Linked DNA regions of Homo sapiens: regions 2 and 3 are each linked to region 1. Evidence: promoter capture Hi-C in human tissues and cell types (Jung and others, 2019). All regions are on one chromosome and are shown on one strand. Each heading gives the region's core, a stretch centred on a gene start or on the middle of the fragment in contact. The rest is flanking DNA. Distances are from core to core; before and after follow the strand shown. Region 1 holds the start of OLFML2A (olfactomedin like 2A). Region 2 overlaps GAPVD1 (GTPase activating protein and VPS9 domains 1). Region 3 has its middle 5.0 kb from the start of PBX3-DT.

Region 1 (2,700 bases), core at 143-2,642:
ATTCTCCTGCCCCAGCCTCCCGAGTAGCTGGGATTATAGGCATGCACCACCACATCAGCCTAATTTTTGTATTTTTAGTAGAGGCGAGTTTTCACCATGTTGCCCAGGCTGGGAGAGTTTGCATTTTTAACAAGTTATCCGATGATGCGGAGGCTGAGACCAAGGACCACACTTTGAGAACCACTGAGTTCAATGTTCATGGGGAGAAACTAAGAATGTGCCCTAGGAAGTCATGCTCCAACACAAGGAAACAAACACACCAACAAGAAAGACAGTCCCATTGAGCAATAAATTCTATGAAGAAAATGAGACCAAGCATGGTGGCTCACACTTGTAATCCCAACACTTTGAGAGACTAGGGTGGCTGGATTGCTTGAGCCCGGGAGTTTGAGAGCCTGGGCAACACAGAAGACCCCATCCCTAAAATAAATACAGAAATTAGCCAGCATGGTGGCACATGCCTGTAGTCCAAGTTATTCAGAAGGCTGAGGGAGGAGGATAGCTTGAGCTGGAAAGTTGACGATACAGTGAGCTGTATTCGCAACACAGCACTCCAGCCTGGGTGACAAAGGAAGACCCAGTCAAAAAAAAAAAAGGAAATGCTGGGTGCAGTGGCTCATGCCTGTAATCTCAACACTTTCGGAGGCCAAGGTGGGAGGATTGCTTGAGCCCAGAAGTTCAAGACCAGTCTAGGCAACAGAGTGAGACCCCGTCTCTGCAAAAAAAAAAAAAACTTTAAATTAGCCAGGTGTAGTGGTGCACACCTGTAGTTTCAGCTACTCAGGAGGCTGAGGTGGGAGGATCACTTGAGCTGGGAAGGTCAAGGCTGTAGTGAGCTGGGATCGCACCACTGCACTACGGCCTGGGCAACAGAGTGAGAAAAATAAAAATTTAAAAGCCGGAAGCTACTGGAGTTTGGGAGCCGACAGGAGGGATTCCAGAGGGAAGGAGAAATGAAAGACGGAAGACAGGTTGGGGTTGCTGAGCCTTGGGAAGGCTTACAGCAGTCAGGTCCCTGTCCAGAAGTGGGTGAAATCGGAGAGCGCAAGGGCTCACGTGCCCTGGGAACATCCGTCTCTCATGCGAACTTTACAAACACTCCAAAAGGAAAGCACGAGTCCCCCATCTTACAGATGAGGAAACTGAGGCACACAGGTGAAGGGACACGCCCAAGGTCCCACGACTCACAGGACAGGACCTGAGTCCGTGAGAGGAGCCCACGCGCCTCGCCCTGGCCCCGTTGCTCCTGCCGGCTGCGATCGAGACCCACCCTGGCGCGCGGGCAGGGATGCCCTTGGGAGAGCCGCCCGACGACGGGGAGGCCCCGCGAACGGCGGGCGGGGCGGGGCGGGGTGCCCCCTCCGCCCTAGCTCCGCCCCTGGCGGCGCTGGAAGACCCGCGGGGCTGGCAGCAGGGTGCAGGCGCGGGGCGCGGGGCAGGCAGAGCGGGCGAAGGCGCGGAGCTCGCAGTGCAGCCCGCGCTTCCCAGCGTCCGTGCCCGGCCGCCTGTGCCTACCGTGCCCGTGGCGCCATGGCCGCTGCCGCCCTCCCGCCCCGGCCGCTGCTCCTTCTGCCGCTAGTGCTGCTGCTGAGCGGCCGCCCCACGCGCGCCGACAGTAAGGTACGCACGCCCCTCGGACCCGCGCGGCTCGGCGGGTAGCGGGGCGCGAGGGGGCGCTGTGGCTGGGGTGCGGCCCGGGAGGGAGCCCGGGGCCAGGGCGGAGGAGCCGGGAGCTGAGAGACCGAACCTGGGACTTCTCAGCACTGAAGCCGCAGGGGCAGGGGCCCCGAGAGAGGGGCGCGTGGAGGAACAAGCGCTGGAGATGTAGGGATGCTAGGGACCCGGGGCCTGAGGAAGGGGCGCTGGGACCGGGTCCGATTCCCGGAGGGGTCGGGGGATTTCCCCGGAGTGCTGGCCAGACTCGGGGTTCGTAGGGGAAGCTCCTGGCAACTGTTACCCAACGACTCCCAGGCTTGCAGCAAGCCCTGGGCCACGGCTTTCACGGCCCGCTGGGGACTGGGGGTCTTCTCTACCCGATGAACGCAGCCGCGCTGGCCACTCGCCTGGCCTCTGATGTTCTTGCCAGGGACCGGGTGCACCCCCTGGAGGACTAGGTAGCTCCAGAAGTGGTCTGAGCTGTTCTCTGCTGTGGCTAAGAGGATCTGCTCTGGTGTCAAGCCGACCTGGGTTCAGTCGCACATCCGCTTCTCATCCGCCATCGCCCATCTGAGCCTCCGTCTATTCACCTGTAGATACAGGGAGAATCATGGGACCCACTTCCTGCAGTTGATGGTCTCTAGATGCGGTGTGGTCATGCCTGTAAAGTACTTAGCACTAGGCCGGGCGCGGTGGCTCACGCCTGTAATCCCAGCACTTTGGGAGGCCGAGACGGGCGGATCACAAGGTCAGGAGATCGAGACCATCCTGGCTAACACGGTGAAACCCCGTCTCTACTAAAAATACAAAAAAAAGTAGCCAGGCATGGTGGTGGGCGCCTGTAGTCCCAGCTACTCCGGAAGCTGAGGTAGGAGAATGGCGTGAACCCGGGAGGCGGAGCTTGCAGTGAGCCGAGATCGCGCCACTGCACTCCAGCCTGGGCGACAGAGCGAGACTCCGTGTCAAAAAAAAAAAGAAAAAAAAAAAATACTTAGCACCAGAGCACTTGGGGTGTTCTGGAAATGACTCCCTGATGGCCAGGTT
Region 2 (2,700 bases), core at 160-2,659, 550 kb after region 1:
TGACCAAAGTAGGAACTTGTGTTTTTAGTGGTGTGCTTGATTGAAGTTATTCTTACTTTGGCCTCTTTCTTGTAGGTAGAGAGGAATTTGGTGGTTTTTTTTTTTTTTTTGAGACAAAGTCCCAAAATGACACGGCCATTTTTATTTTTGAGACAGGGTCTCACTCACATTGACCAGGTTGGAGGGCAATGGCATGACCTCGGCTCACTGCAGTCTCTGCACCCCCTGCAACCTCTGCCTCCCGGGTTCTTGTGCCTCAGCTTCCCAAGTAGCTGAGACTACCGGTGCACGCCACCATACCTGGCTAATTTTTGTATTTTCAGTAGAGACGGGGTTTCGCCATGTTGGCCAGGCTGGTGTTGAACTCCTGGCCTCAAGTGATCTGCCTGCCTCAGCCTCCCAAAGTGCTGGGATTACAGGTGTGAGCCACCGCGCCCAGCCAGGAGATTTTGTTAGCTAGTGTTTGGCTTTTCTCCACTATCACTGCACTTTCCTCCAGGATCTTTGTTAACCCTTTGCTTCCCACTGGTTATACAGGTGCTGCAGCAGAGAACATGTTAGGCAGTTTGCTGTGCCTCCCAGGTTCAGGGTCAGTGCTTCTTGACCCCTGCACTGGTTCTACCATATCAGAGACAACAAGTGAAGCTTGGAGTGTAGAGGTATTGCCAAGTGACTCAGGTTAGTATGCTGTCATTGTTTGCTTTTTCATTTATACAGAAGTTTTAATTAAATGCAAGGTATCCCAACTCTGTATTATGTATATTTTGTCAAATACACTTTTTTTTTTTTTTTAATGGAGATGGAGTCTTGCTCTTTTACCCAGGCTGGAGTGCTGTGGCGCGATCCCAACTTACTGCAACCTCTGCCTCCTGGGTTCAAGCAGTCTTCTCGCCTCAGCCTCCTGAGTAGCTGGGATTACAGACATGCCCCACCATGCCGGGTAATTTTTGTATTTTTAGAGAAACAGGGTTTCACCATGTTGGCCAGGCTGGTCTTGAACTACTGACCTCAGGTGATCTGCCCACCTTGGCCTCCCGAAGTGCTGGAATTACAGGCATGAGCCATCATGCCCAGCCAGTTATACATTTGACAAAGATGAGGTGATCACATTGCTAAGAATGTCAAATGGAAAATTAGTTTAGGGCATTTTCTGTCCATTAAGGGAAAATGCTCTGTTAGATAGCATAGACTGTGATGGCAGGTGCTTTCAGACTCTGTGTTGAGTTATTTTGAAAGCAATTTTCTGTGATTATCAGAGTCCGTGTGAATCATTGAATTTAGTATCTTCCACAAACTCATGACAGGATAAGAGTAGCAACACAGTTCAAACTGAGTGCTTGCTTGGTAAACACATTTAGATTTATCACAGGGGAGAACTTGACTCTCTAAAACATGCTTAATGTGTTTTTGAAATACGTTGAAATTGAGATTCTGTAATCCTGAGGATTTTTTTTTTGTGCAGGTTATTATAAATGTATATAAAGTGTTTTGTACTTTGTCTTTTCATATGCATTGCATTTTTTTCTGATTATGAAGACGCATCTTTGCTTTCAACTAAATGTCAACTACCAGAATGTAAATATAAGTAACTGTGTATCTGCATTACATTCTGTTGATTTACTTGGTTCAAGAATTATTAAGTGATCCTGATATGTGTTTTATAATTTTTTTTTTTTTTGAGATGGAGTCTCACTCTGTCACCCAGGCTGGAGTGCAGTGGTGCAATCACGGCTCAGTGCAATCTCTGCCTCCTGGGTTCAAGTGATTCTTTTGCCTCAGCCTCCCAAGTAGCTGGGATTACAGGCACCTGCCACCACGCCTAGCTAGTTTTTGTATTTTTAGTAGAGATGGGATTTCACCGTGTTGGGCATGCTGGTCTCGAACTCCTGACCTCAGGTGATCTGCCGGCCTCGACCTCCCAAAGTGCTGGGATTACAGGTGTGAGCTACCACGGCTGGCCTGTTTTATAATGTTAAAGCATTCAGATATGCTAGCCTTGTTTGAAGACCAGTTGGGGACAATAGGATTAGCTTACCAGCTGTTGAGTATTCATAGGAGTTACTTTTTAGGAAGTGGTTGATTTAATACCAGGCTATTCCATACTCTCTTGTCCAGTTCACATGTTAATCAATAGCATACTCTGTGACATTAGTGATCTAGAACCACGTTTTCATCTGTGCACAGTGAACTGGCTTATATTGGGATGAAAATCACAACTTTGACTTAACACTTAATCTAACTAGCATTAACTAGTCCAGACTTACACATGTATTTGCACTGATTTTATTCATGCCCTGGTAGCTTTGTTTATCTGGGTCACAAAAGCTGAAATTGTGGTGTGCTAAGAGAATCACAAATGTAACATACCTCTTATCTTCTATTTAGAGGCCCCAGACCTAAAGCAGGAGGAGCGTCTGCAAGAACTGGAGAGCTGTTCTGGACTGGGTAGCACATCTGATGATACGGATGTCAGGGAGGTCAGTTCCCGCCCCAGCACACCAGGCCTCAGTGTTGTGTCCGGTATGTCTGTCTTGTTTTAAGGAGTAGGGATTTGAAGGTGTTCACCCCCTACCCCCTCCTATTTATAAAGTTGATACAAAAAGATATGTTATATTTAAGAGCTGAGTAATTTCCAGAAAACAAACTTATTTCCATTGCACCTGAAATCTTTGAGAACTTAATGTGTGGCCTTATGGAGCC
Region 3 (2,779 bases), core at 137-2,636, 960 kb after region 1:
TCCCTCAAAGCCCCAACACTCTAATCACATGGTTGGTCTTTCTGGTGACCAGCCACCATCCTGAGTCATCACTTTAGCATAAAATTAGATGTGATCTAAGGGCCTCATGAATAATAAAAACACTCTTATAGCTTGGGAGATTTCAAGGGTTTTAGATGTTACCTCCCAGGAATCCAATACAAAGACGAGAGGAATTTTTTTTTTTATCATACATCATCTCCCCCACTCTAGGAGCTCCTACTATGTGTCGGGCATTGTGCTAGGCTATTCCATCCATCCATCCATCAGTCCATCCATCCATCCATCCATCCATCCATCCATCCATCCACACATACATCTGTCATATAAGTGTTTATAGTGCTATATCAGCTTTTCTGCAAGATACAGAAAACCCAGCCAATAGGATTTTAAAACAGGAGATGAATTTACTCACAAAACTAGAAATCCAAGGGAAAGCAGTTGCTTCTTTGGCTCAGATGTTGGACCATGTCTGCAGACACCTAGGCTCTCCTTATCTTTCTACCCCACTTACCATGTTTATTTTTGTTTTGAATGAATGTTTTATTTTATTTACTTATTTTTTTTTTTTTTGAGACAGAGTCTCGCTCTGTCACCCAGGCTGGAGTGCAGTGGCTCAGTCTCGGCTCACTGCAAGCTCCACCTCCCAGGTCGACGTCATTCTCCTGCCTCAGCCTCCCGAGTAGCTGGGACTACAGCCGGCTGCCACCATGCCTGGCTAATTTTTTTGTATTTTTAGTAGAGACGGGGTTTCACCGTGTTAGCCAGGATGGTCTCGATCTCCTGACCTCGTGATTCACCCGCCTCAGCCTCCCAAAGTGCTGGGATTACAGGCGTGAGCCACCGCTCCTGGCCCTGAATGTTTTTTTTTAAAGTATTTACAGATAAAAATTAGAAGGTGGTGGGGCCGGATGCGGTGGCTCATGCCTGTAATCCCAGCACTTTGGGAGGCCGAGGTGGGTGGATCATGAGGTCAGGAGATCGAGACCATCCTGGCTAACACGGTGAAACCCTACCTCTACTGAAAATACAAAAAATTAGCCAGGCGTGGTGGTGGGTGCCTGTAGTCCCAGCTACTCCGGAGGCTGAGGCAGGAGAATGGCGTGGATCCAGGAGGTGGAGCTTGCAGTGAGCCGAGATTGCGCCACTGCACTCCAGCCTGGGCGACAGAGCGAGACTCCGTCTCAAAAAAAAAAAAAAAAGAAAAAAAAATTTAGAAGGTGGTACAGAGAGTTCCCTAATATCCCATACACTATTTCCTCTATTATTAACATCTCACATTAATATGGTACTTTTTGAAATTAATGAACCAATGTGAAATGTTATCACTAACTGAAGTGTATACTTTATTCAAATTTCCATAGTTTTTTTTTTTTTTCTTGAGACGGAGTCTCGCTCTGTTGCCCAGGCTGGAGTGCAGCGGCGCCATCTGGGCTCACTGCAAGCTCTGCCTTCTGGGTTCACGCCATTCTCCTGCCTCAGCCTCCCGAGTAGCTGGGACTACAGGCGCCAGCCACCACGCCCGGCTAATTTTTTTAAAAAATTTTTTTAGTAGAGACGGGGTTTCACTGTATTAGCCAGGATGGTCTCGATCTCCTGACCTCATGATCCGCCTGTCTCGGCCTCCCAAAGTGCTGAGATTACAGGCGTGAGCCACCGCGCCTGGCCAAATTTCCATAGTTTTTACCTAATATCCCTTTTCTGTTCCAGGATCCCATCCAGAATGCTAGATTACATCCAGTCCTCATTTCTCCTTAGGCTCTTCTTGGTTGTGACAGTTTTTCAACTTTTCTTACTCTTTATGACCTTGACAGTTACAAGGAGTACAAAGACCAGAGAAATTACTGGCCAGGTATTTTGTAGAATGTCCTTCAATTAGTATTTGTGTAATATTTTTCTAATTATTGGTCTGGGATTACAAGCTTTGGGAGGAAGACCACAGATATAAACCACCAAACCATGTTGATTTTGTCTTCATATTTTCATTTCACTATCACAGGTGGCTGCTATGAGCACTCCAGATTCAGGACTACTTTCAAAGATGGAAAGAGCCAGGAAAATGAAGGAGAGAAGAGCCATGTCTGTCCCCTTTTTTTTCTTTTTCTGAGACAGGGTCTCGTTCTTTGCCCAGGCTGGAGTGCAGTGGCCAAATTGCTGGGATTACAGGCATGAGCCAGCACGCCTGGCCTATCTGTCCCTTTTTTAAAAAATTAGCAAGGTCACCCCTCCTCCTGACAGGCTCAGAAGGCAGGGGACAGGATGCTCATACTTGTTTTAGACCTTGATTGGGACTGAGCACATTGTCTTCAGAATAAAATCAGGCTTCTATTGGTGTAGAAGGAAGTAAGCCAATGGATGGCAGGCCAACAACTGGTCATGTCGGCCCCAACTGTCTATTCTGTATGAAACTGCACCGTACTGGGTGCTATGAAGGGACATAAGAGAGGGAGCATTCTACCAAATTTTTCTAGAAATTATACATTCTGATAAATATTCTCTTTTAAAGGCATCACTTTAGAAGGATGGACTGTTATCCCACTAAATCTTTGGTAACTCAATCAAATCCATCCTTAGAAGATAAACGTTGGTCATATGTCACATGTGCTATCAACTGTAAAGACCAATTCTAAAGAGTCATTCCTGTCTGGGTGCAGTGGCTCATGCCTGTAATCCCAGTACTTCGAGATGCTGAGGTGGGATGATCCCTTGAGGCCAGGAGTTTGAACGCAGCCTGAGCACCATAGCGAGACCTCATCCATAC

Evidence for each region. Contacts are between HindIII fragments. The study calls those that stand out against the background at their distance.
Region 2: a fragment that was not itself captured here is called in contact with the fragment with the promoter of OLFML2A in region 1 in 1 of the 25 tissues and cell types used here (lymphoblastoid cells).
Region 3: a contact is called between a fragment that was not itself captured here and the fragment with the promoter of OLFML2A in region 1, in 1 of the 25 tissues and cell types used here (dorsolateral prefrontal cortex).

What each region holds. Positions count from the first base shown.
Region 1 is chr9:124,775,741-124,778,440 of GRCh38, forward strand. OLFML2A (olfactomedin like 2A) reads left to right here and starts at 1,393. Exons shown (of 8, transcript NM_182487.4): 1 at 1,393-1,620. The coding sequence starts at 1,531. RefSeq lists silencers at 1,297-1,396, 1,467-1,766. The HindIII fragment of the contact is 24,652 bases long and covers 1-2,700 here.
Region 2 is chr9:125,329,541-125,332,240 of GRCh38, forward strand. GAPVD1 (GTPase activating protein and VPS9 domains 1) reads left to right here. Exons shown (of 28, transcript NM_001282680.3): 13 at 538-678; 14 at 2,386-2,520. Among named protein-coding and RNA genes, the nearest start is that of GAPVD1, 69 kb to the left of the region's middle. The HindIII fragment of the contact is 9,933 bases long and covers 1-2,700 here.
Region 3 is chr9:125,739,583-125,742,361 of GRCh38, forward strand. No RefSeq gene overlaps it. Among named protein-coding and RNA genes, the nearest start is that of PBX3-DT, 5.0 kb to the right of the region's middle. The HindIII fragment of the contact is 6,270 bases long and covers 1-2,779 here.